Regions from separate parts of the Homo sapiens genome. Here regions 1 and 3 are each linked to region 2. Evidence: promoter capture Hi-C in 16 types of primary human blood cells and fetal thymus (Javierre and others, 2016). All regions are on one chromosome and are shown on one strand. The core of a region is centred on a gene start or on the middle of the fragment in contact, and the rest is flanking DNA. Distances in the headings are between cores, read along the strand shown. Region 1 has its middle 6.3 kb from the start of PIGA. Region 2 holds the start of PIR (pirin). Region 3 overlaps ASB11 (ankyrin repeat and SOCS box containing 11).

The links. Contacts are between HindIII fragments. The CHiCAGO score rates a contact against its expected background, and 5 or more counts as called.
Region 1: a contact is called between a fragment that was not itself captured here and the fragment with the promoter of PIR in region 2, in 1 of 17 cell types (neutrophils). The highest score is 5.7, in neutrophils.
Region 3: a fragment that was not itself captured here is called in contact with the fragment with the promoter of PIR in region 2 in 2 of 17 cell types (M2 macrophages and endothelial precursors); the score reaches 6.2 in M2 macrophages.

The regions. Positions count from the first base shown.
Region 1 is chrX:15,340,115-15,343,508 of GRCh38, forward strand. No RefSeq gene overlaps it. Among named protein-coding and RNA genes, the nearest start is that of PIGA, 6.3 kb to the left of the region's middle. The HindIII fragment of the contact is 3,884 bases long and covers 1-3,394 here.
Region 2 is chrX:15,491,682-15,494,974 of GRCh38, forward strand. PIR (pirin) reads right to left here and starts at 1,652. Exons shown (of 10, transcript NM_001018109.3): 1 at 1,509-1,652. RefSeq lists enhancers at 1,062-1,564, 1,565-2,068. The HindIII fragment of the contact is 4,696 bases long and covers 1-3,293 here.
Region 3 is chrX:15,297,878-15,301,609 of GRCh38, forward strand. All of the region lies in intron 2 of ASB11 (ankyrin repeat and SOCS box containing 11), which reads right to left. Among named protein-coding and RNA genes, the nearest start is that of ASB11, 16 kb to the right of the region's middle. RefSeq lists an enhancer at 350-644. The HindIII fragment of the contact is 1,257 bases long and covers 702-1,958 here.

The DNA of each region.
Region 1 (3,394 bases), core at 345-2,844, 150 kb before region 2:
TTGTTTGAGTGATGTCTTCCTTTTCGTTTTAGCACCCTTTTTTGAAGACCGTCCTCCAGTAGCCTCCTAAAGAAGACTGCATGGGAGATCGGGAGATTTTCTAAGAACTTTAATGTCTGAAAATTTATTTTTCAGCCCTCCAATTTTATTGATAGTTTGGGTGCCAAATAGTAGGCCAGAAATTATTTTCCTTCAGAAGTTTAGCAGCATTGCTCTAGCCTGCTAGCTTTTGGTGTTGCTATTGAGAAAACTAATTTCATTCGGATTCCTGGCCCTTTGTTTGAAGTTATCATAATTTTTCTTTACTCTGGAAACTTATACATTATCTCTTAGTCTCCCGTGTCCTGAAATTTCATCATTTTGTGCCTTGGTATAGGCATAGTTTCACCTTTTGGACTAGGGACTCAGAGAGCCTTTTCACTTGCCAACTCATGTGCTTCGAAATTCTCTTGAATTTTTAAATTGTTGATTACATCTCCTATTGTGTCTCTTCTCATTTCCTGTAACTTCAGTTATTCTGATGTTAGACCTTCTTATCTTTTCACTTTTAATTTCTTATTTATTCTACTTCATAGGAAATTTCTTCAACTCTGTCTTCCTTTTTTGTTCTATTGAATTTTCAATTTATTATAATAGTTTTAGTTTCCTAGGGCTCAATTATGTCCTCTGACATTTTCTTTTTTAATAACACCTTCATTTTATTTATTAGTTGCACTGTCTCACCTTCTTCCCTCATCCCCTGGCTATTAATGATTTGAAGTTTTCTTCTGTTTCCTCCAAATTGCCTTTTTCTGTGTGTTTTACTCTCTGTCTTTCATGTTAGAAATTTTCCCTGGAGGTCTGGGAATTCATGCTTGCTTGCTCATACTTAAAAGAAAGGGACAAAGGAGCTGATCTGAGGTCTGAGCCCAGGAATGGGGCTTGATGACCTCTTTGGGCTGTTCCATTTGATAGTCCCTCCCCCAGCTAATTTCAGTCCTTTTTAGGTCTTTTCTCTTAGGCTGGTAAGATTCCCCCTAGAGAAATACTTTTCCAGTACAGATCCAACTGCCTGAATTGTGGTTGCACCTAGTATGTACGCGTTCACTTAATCCTCTTGTTAGTTCAGCACCCTGCCCTCATGGATGTCAGGCATCCCCCATTCAGGATGCTCTCTCTTTTACCTTAGCCAAACGACTAATAACCCATCTTTTGCCTGGGGTTGGAAGGAGCAGTCACTCCACCACAGGGAATGTGGGAGAAGATTTGGGATCAAACTGTTTCTTATACAGATTTTTGGAATGAACCTCATTTTAGCACCCCTCTCATCCCTCCCATTTCTAGAGGTGCTTGGGACACCCACTTCTGAGCCTTTTGGGAACTCATCTTTCCAGACTGTTGGCTTAAATTATTTTTTTTTTCAGGTCGGCCACATCATTTACAACTTATCTACGTGCTTTTCAGCTTTCAGAACATTGTTGTTTCTGTTGACTTTATCATTTACCCTGTCCTTGCGGGCTTATGCTTTAAAAAAAAAAAAAAAATCCTGGTCCGGGTGCGGTGGCTCACGCCTGTAATCCCAGCACTTTGGGAGGCCGAGGCGGGTGGATCACAAGGTCAGGAGATCGAGACCATCCTGGCTAACATAGTGAAACTCCGTTTCTACTAAAAAATACAAAAATTAGCTAGGCATGGTGGCGGGTGCCTGTAGCCTGTAATCTCAGCTACTCAGGAGGCTGAGGCAGCAGAATCACTTGAACTTGGGAGGCAGAGGTTGCAGTGAGCCAAGATTGTGCCACTGCACTCCAGCCTGGGTGACAGAGTGAGACTCTGTCTCAAAAAAAAAAAAAAAAATCCCCTTACTCTTTAGGAGTATTTACTTTACCCAGGGCATTGGAAAAAAGAGAAAAAACAAACAAACAAAAAAAAAACTAATATGTTTATGCACTATCTCTATTTAGAGTCCACGCCATCAACACTAACATTTTAGAGCTATACCACAAACATAACTAGAACCCATCAATAAATGTATCCATGACTTTATTTGAATTGTGGAAACCTGAAATTTAAATCACTGTAACTTTTTAGCTTCATTGGGTTGCACACTACACAATGACTCAAATAAGGTGAGGCCAGTTGATTCCAACAATCGATCAAGGCCAGGTAAAAGTGCCATTTCTTATAGGGGTTCAAGAAGCAGTCTAATTCATTATATTTAATGTTCATTGATGACGTGATAAAATAAGAAATATTTTTACACAAGCGGTTGGCTAACTTTTTCTGTAATGGACCAAAGAGTAAATATTTTAGGCATTGCAAGCCAAACAGTCTCTGTCCCCAACTACTCAACTCTGCTGTTGTAGAATAAAAGTAGCCATAGACAATACATCAACAAATGAGCATAACTGTGTTCCAATAAAGCAGTATTTACCAAAACAACAGGCAGTGAGCTGAAAGTGGCCTATGGGCCATAGCTTACTGACCACTGTTTCAGAACAATATCAGTGATAAAATTACCAAAGGCAGACTTTCTTTCATGAAGCCATTAATAAGGGTCAAATAACAGAATTTTTTTGCTCCTTTTCATTTCATAAATATTTTGAGAATAGATTAAATTCCTTTCTAGAGTTGCAACATCTGAATAATTCAGACATGCATATAATTTAGCTGAGTTTGAAAAACATGAGCTATGTAAAATTACTCTTCACTTTTTAAAGAGATAATTTCATTGGCTGGCCACAAAATCAATGTAATAACTTATTATTTATTAAATATTTATTGAGTACCTAATATATGCAAGACATTGTTCTCACACTGAGGATTAAGACTAAATTAGGCAAAGTCCAGCTCTTGCTGACCAAATCTATTAAGCTCACAATTTTCACTGAACTATGGCTTTTCTTAAGGGCATTAAAACGTAATGTTTGTATAATTTCCTTTATCAAGTCTCTCAGACAGTATTTTAATCTTCATTCAACTCTGATCATCATGCTGCCTAATCTGTTTCCATCTCTAAAGGGCCTCCTGCCACACTGTTTTAGTCATAGATTTATGACGTGTGCTGTCACATTAATAATTCTCTGGCCCTGTGGCGTAATCAGGGACATCATGCATTGCTGGCATTTATTGTGTTTGCTTAAAGCTCTTGGAGTTTCTCACATACTTTTATTTTGCAACAAGTTGAGGATTTTCAACTCACGTTCCAGGGCTGTTAGTATGACAAATATTCCTGTGCAATGTCTAGTGAACTCTAAGAAAGCAACAGGCCAGTTACCCCACCTCCGCCCTCAAGGACCAGACCCATCCTGACCCAGCGTCAGGGATCCAAGTGCAGATCTTGATGGTAATTGGGAATTAAGGAGGAAGAAGAGGGAGGGGTTTTAGAAGCACAAAGCCAGATCACATTGAGTTTTGG
Region 2 (3,293 bases), core at 402-2,901:
TTTTTACTGTATCTTTTCTATGTTTAGGTATGTTTAGATACACAAATACTCACCACGGTGTTGCAGTTGCCTCAGTATTCAGTACAGGAACATGCTGTATGGGTTTGTAGCCTAGGAACAATAGGCTATACCATATATCCTACTACACACCTAGGTTATACCAGCTAGGTTTGTCTAAGTGTACTCTAAGATGCTTGCACAACGACAAAATCACCTAACAATGCATTTCTCCGAACATATCCCCATCGTTAAGTGAAGCATGACTTTAGCAGCTCTGTTGGCCCCTTACTAAAAATCTCCAATGAACACTTTGTCTTTCTTACTTCACTGAATTCTCTCGATCTCCCACCCCTTCCCCAGTGCCACTCATCTGTCAGCCTCACTGGTAGCACCCATGAGGTAGTTGCTACCAATGAGGCTGACAGATGGGGGCAGGTTTGTGTGGCGCCTTAGAGAAAATGGAGAAAAACAAAGAGGTCCCTAACTCTTACCAGAACATGCTGAAGATCTTGGCATTAAAAGAGATCTTCGAGGGTCATTGAATTCAAAGACCCATCTATTCCTGAAGTTCAGGGCCAACATTTTGGGCAAGAAATCTTTCAGCTTACTCATGAAGTCTCCTAGAGCATAGGCAAGTCATGGACCAGCTGTTCTTGGCAATGTATCTCATATTTCAGGACTTACCTATAGCCAGAGTTTGTTATTCGAAAGTCTTTTCCTCTTTGGGAGGTCTAGGTTCTAATGGACTATCCCAGAAGGAATATAATCTATCCCTATTCCACTTCAAGTGTTTGCAGACAGTACCCCCAATCCCTTAAATCTTTTCTTCAAGTGAAATATACCCAATTCCTTCAAAGATTCCTACTGAAACGAAGAGAGGTGCTTTGGCAAAAAGCAGACTCTGGAACCAGACAGCCTAGGTTTGCATCTCAGCTTCACCACATATCAGCTGTGTGACCTGAGGTTTTCTGTGGCTCAGTTTTATCTGTAAAATGGAATGATAAGACCGCCTACCTCAAAGGGGTGCAGTTAGTGCTATGAGAATGTTAGCTGCTGTTATTCAGAAGGGCTCTACTCCACAATACCCTCCACTTAGTCAAGGCCTACCCTAAAATGTATCCTCCCTGAATAGTAATCGATAAATATTTATTGGGTGATAGGTTGCAAGGCGCAGAAACGAGCTTAATACTCAAAGCAGTACAGGCCGGTCATCACCTACATCGAAGCAACCAGAAAGTATCTTTATCCCCATCTAGATTATGTCTGGGTCCTTCCAGACTCCTACGATTAAATTGTATGCATGTGAACAACTGATGAGGTACTTAGATCTCAGTGCTTTGCAGAAAGAAAAGCCGTCTACCATTTTCACCAAATTTCGTAGTACAATTTAAGTATCTCTTGTTATCTCCCCTAGGAGTCTAAAGTGAGCTGGGGAAGGCAGGATTTTGCAAACTGACCGCCAGCATTCCCTCACCTAGTGGACCCCTGCAGGAGCCCCAGGTACTCACGCTGCGGTAGCGGCACCTGGAGCCTTAGCGGCGGGGGTGACGCGAAGAGCCGCCGGGAGCGAGTGCAGGGAGGGCAGGTTAAGAGAGTGTGGGTCCAGTAGCCTCACCGTGACTCAGCGCTTCGCGGCCGGCGGCCTAGAGGAGGCGGGAGGCGGGAGTCTACGGGTCTCGGAGGCCCTGGGGCTCCGCCCTCGGGAATGTCACTCCACTCTCGCTCCGCCCTACGCCTCTCCCAGGCCAGCTTGGCGGCCCTTTGGCCTCCCTGCCTCTCGTGCCGGGAAGAGATGCTCACTCGGGTAATTTAGGCGGCACTTGCTGTGCTCCAGGAGGAAATGTGTGGCCCGGGCAGGTGCTCTGATCGGCGCTCCGGTCGGTCTTGTGGGAAATCTGTTTTTAACTGTAGTCTCCCTGTCACCCAGCCGGCGGAGCTTGGCGGCACGGATTCCAGTGCTGCCTCCACCGCTGGGAGGCACCACTTGACATGACCTGGGACAGGTGGCTCAGTCTCTCTGTGCCTCTGGTTCCTCCTCTATAAAATGAGGATGGTGATGATAATAGTGCCAGCCTTATCGGGCTGAAATGAGAATTAAATGAGCCTGTCACATTCTAAGCACTACAGAATCGTTTGTTCCATAGATAAGTTGCCTGCTGTTTGTCAGTTAGAATTGCGAGAAAAGGAGTGCGGGAGTGGGGACGGGCAGCCATACGTCTTTATTCCTGCCTGAAGAGAAGGCACACTCTAGTGGGGAGATAATTGGTTAAGAGTTTGTATGGTGTTGGAACACAGTGGGCAGGCGTTGGAGAGTTTTTCCAGAAGAATGAGGAGCTGGCACAAGCCAGTGAGGGGATCTAGTTGATTACTAGGATTATTAACTAGTGGTACAGGCATAGCTGCAGTTTCTATTCTCTAAACACCAGAAGGCTCATTGCCTGGTTTTGAGAAAGGAAAGACAGTGGTGTCTCTAAAATAAGGTTGGAAAACTTTGTCTGTGAAGGACCAGATAGTAAATACTTTGACTTTGCAGGCCATGTACATTCTCCAGTTTGCCTTTGTAGCAAGAAAGCAGCCATAGATAACATGTAAATAAATGAATGTGGCTGTAGTTCAATAAAACTTTAATTATGAATACTGAAATATAAATTCATAAAATTCATACAATTTTGAGTTCATATAATTTTTACTTGTCATGAAATATTATCCTTCTTTTGATCTTAAATGTAAAACCACTTAAAATGTAAAAACCATTCTTAGCCCTCTGGCTATACAAAAATAGGTAGTGGGCTACCTACTCATTTTGGCTGCAGGCCTAGTATGCAGATCCCTGCTCTAAAAGAACAGGTTAGTAGAGGAACGAACACTTTTCTCTGGGCTTTTAAAATATCAGTGGGGCTTAAACCCGTCCTCATCACCTTACTTAGGCAGTTCAAGGCTAGCTGAGATAATACACATGAACATTAAAGGTGCTATGGAATAACAAAGTATTGTTTCTTATCGTCATTGTAACTAGTTCTGCAACTGTCTCCTCTACCTCTGCAGCTGTAATAGGTGTACTAGGAGTGAACGTTTCTCCTCTTTGTCTCTCAGAAGCCAGTTACAGGTAAAAGCTAAGTCCAAGGTTGTACATGGTTAGAGCAATGCAGGAATTCCATTTACAGGCCCCTGCAGAAAAAAGAAAAGAAAAGAAAAAAGAACAAGTCTGAAAAGGTAGAAGACTTAAAATGAGGAGAAACAAAGGTGAGAGAGGGAAGAATTCTTACAAATGAACAAAGGGCGTATAATGTTTC
Region 3 (3,732 bases), core at 80-2,579, 190 kb before region 2:
TGTTGTTTCACATGTTTCTGACATTTTCACAGTCTGTGGGTGTAATATTAGTACCATAGAGAGAGAAGTAGAAGTTACGATCAGGGGAGCCTAAAGACAGCATGACAGCCTCACATTCATTTATCCAAAAGAATGTTAATTCTGCATTCTGGAGCAGGTAATGTACTAGGACCTGGGTCTTCAAAACTTATGACATGGGTCTCTCTTCTCCCAGAGCCTACTGGGGAGGCAGAAATGAAAGACAAAAGAGCAAGAATATTGCTATACTGGAAGCATGTCCAAAATTAGTTTGGGAGCATAGGATATCCTTGAATCTGGCTTGGGGAGTAAGAAAAACCTTGCAAATGAGGTAGTATTTAGCTAAGACTTGAAGCATAAAATGTTTCAAGCTGTGAAGACCAAGAAAGAGTATGCCATTAGGAGAGAATAGAAACTGCAAATTCAGGAAGCAACAGGAAGTTATTTCCTGTTGCTTCCTGTTGCTTCCTGTGGCAGGGCCACAGTCGGATTTCTGGAACAGAAAGAACCCACAGAAAGTAGAAGCAGGAGATGGGAGGAGACAAAGGAGGACAGTAAGCTGGAGCTAGGTCATGAAAGGCCTTGATTTCCAAACAAGGAGGGCATGTCTTAGAGGAAATGGAGCACCTATGAAGTCTGCTAGGCTGCGGAGGGTCTGGAGCTAATAGATTAGCCTTTTTAGAAGCTTACTGGTAGCAGCATGGAGGGTTGATTGCAGGAGTAGGGATGTAAGACCAAAGCAAGGAGAGCCACAGAGATGTCACTATGAGTCTAGGAACAGGCTGGCATGGGCCTGCTGTGGCTGTGAATAACAGTAGGTATGAGGTATAGATGATGGAGTGCAGACAAGTTCAGGAGGTCGAGCTGGATCTGAAACAAAACAATAACTCCCAGGCTTAAGAGTAAGTAGACTGTGCTCCTAGGATTCATGTGCTGTGGAGTAGCAGCACTGCTTCAGCCATGACTCCACTGTGTGCAGAGGTCTCTGAAGTCCTAGAGTCCGGGGCCAGCGGACTTCTCCTAACCTTCATCTCCTCACCCAGGTATGAGTGCCTCCACCCTGTCCTAACACATTCTCCCTCCCCATACTACCATGTGTCCCCTTCCTTGTCCTGGACTCCATGTGACAGATGACAAGGTCAGCCTAGCTGCTGGACAACTCTGACTTCATAACCTGATTTTAACAACTTGGCTCTTACCATTTCCCTCCCTCTGATGATCACGTTCTATCTGCAAAAGTGTTGACAAAAACAGTCAAACTATAAAATATTTGAAGAGATTTATTCTGAGCCAAATATAAGTGACCAATGGCCTGTGACAAGCTCTCAGGAGATCCAGAGAACATGTGCCCAGGGTAGTCAGGGCACAGCCTAGTTTTATACATTTTAGGGAAACATGAGACATCAATCAAATACATGTAAAATGTACATTTGTTTGGCCTGGGAAGGTTGGACAACTCAAAGTGGGGGCCTGGGGCTCCAGATTATAGACAGATTGAAAATTTTTCTGATTGGCAATTGGTTGAAAGAGTTATTATCAATAGAAATGTCTGTCTGGGTTACAATAAGGGGTTGTGGAGACAAAAGTTTTATCATGTGGATGAAGCCTCCAGGTAGCAGGCTTCAGAGAGAATAGATTGTAAATGTTTCTTATCAGACTTAAGGTCTGTGTTGATGTTAAATTCTGGTCATCTTTTCCTGAGTTCCAAAAGGGAGGAGGGTATAATGAGGCATGTTCAACCCCCCTTTCCTGTCATGGCCTGAACCAGTTTTTCAGGTTAGTTTTGGAATGCCCTGGCTGAGAGGAGGGGTACATTCAGATGGTTGGAGAGGGGGTGCTTAGAATTTTATTTTTGATTTATAAAAGGAATTAGGTCCCTGGTCTGTCCTTCCCAGCCGAGTCCTGCTTTTGATCCTATGCCTTGTAACTGACCAACTGAAAGCTTCCAAAACCCAATGCCATGACCCTGAACCCCGAACTCCTACTTACACGGCCACCATCTCCTGCCAGATCTCTGGCTGCATCCTTGCTGTGGCCAGCAGCTGTGATTTCCCAGAATTGTCCCTTCATCATAAGGCCTCTTTTTGACTCCTGAATTCTGTCTATTTTCATGTCCTGAATATGACATCATTACTCTAGATCTGTGCTACATATTTCAAACTGGGCATCTAATAAGAGTTAGAAAAAGTCTTTTCATTTTTCTTTTCCTTTTGAGAAAATAAGAAAAAACAGACTAGTCCACAAGGTGGCAGAAGTGTGCTAGAAAAAACTGTTACGGTGCAAAATCTCAGAATCCCTGAAATTGTAGAAATGTGATGCTGGAAAGGCCTGAAAGATCATCTAGAGTGGATCACCTCAATTGTGCATGAGAAAATGGAGGAGTAGAATGTTCAAATACTTTTTAAGACTGGTTGTCAGTGACAGCCAGCAGTGTAACCAAGAGCTCCTGAATCTTGGTTTAATGTTTTACTCACATTTACTCACATTAGCTTAATGTTTTACTCATATCGGTTTAATGTTTTACTCACATCGATCATATTATCTAAATGTAAAATAAAGTTTATAAAAGTAGACAAATACATTTTTTAACAGTGTATAAGAGTAAAGAAGTAGGGGTGTAAAAGAAAAAGTTGAACTTTTGTATAAAGAATGCCCCCTTACACATTTAACCATATTATTGAAGCTAATATGCTTATTAAGTATAGTTAGTGCAATGTGGGATCCTGGAACAGAAATAGGACATGAGAGGAAAAACTGGTGAAATCACAATAGTGTGCAGTTTAGTCAGTGGTATTGTATCAATGTTAACTTCGTATTTTTGACTAATGTACCATAGCTATGTAAGATGTCAATATTAAAGGAAGTTGGGTGAAGGGTACAGTGTATATGGGAACTGTCTGTATCCTTTTCAACTCTTCTTTAAAATTATACAAAAATTTAAAAAGCCTATTAAAAATATACCAATGAAAGTATTGAGGTGGGAGACTGAGAGAGAAGAGGTGGGTGGGAGACTGAGAGAGAAGAGGTGGGTGCAAGACGTTTCATTGTGCACCTTTTTAATTTTATTTATTTATTTATTTTATTGAGACAGAGTTTCACTCTTTCACCCAGGCTGGAGTGAAGTGACGCGATCTCGGTTCACTGCAACCTCCACCCCGCCAGGTTCAAACGATTTTCCTGCCTCAGCCTCCCAAGTAGCTGGGATTATAGGCGCCCACCACCACGCCTGGCTAATTTTTGTACTTTTAGTACAGATGGGGTTTCACCATGTTGCCCAGGCTGGTCTCGAACTCCTGACCTCAGGTGATCCACCCACCTTGGCCTCCTAAAGTGCTAGGATTACAGGCGTGAGCCACCACATCCGGCCAGTCCACCTTTTTAAATAATTGTAATTTTTGAACTATGTGAATATATTACCTATTAAAAATAATCAAATCACATCCAATTTAAAGTACTTAAAAATAAATAAGCAAGTGATAAAATCAGGTACAAAGTTCATTTGATCATTGCTGGCAGTGCTGATTTCCATTTACCTCTACTTTTTAAGAAGTAACACAACTCATAAAGGAGAAATCAAAAAACAAATAAATGAAAAATACATACACATGCACACACAGACAGAGAGAGAGAGACAGAGAGAGAGAGAGAAAGAAAAAGAGAGAGAGAGAGCAGTGCACCCAGTGGTTTAAATTCAAAGTAGCAAGAAAGCCAGAT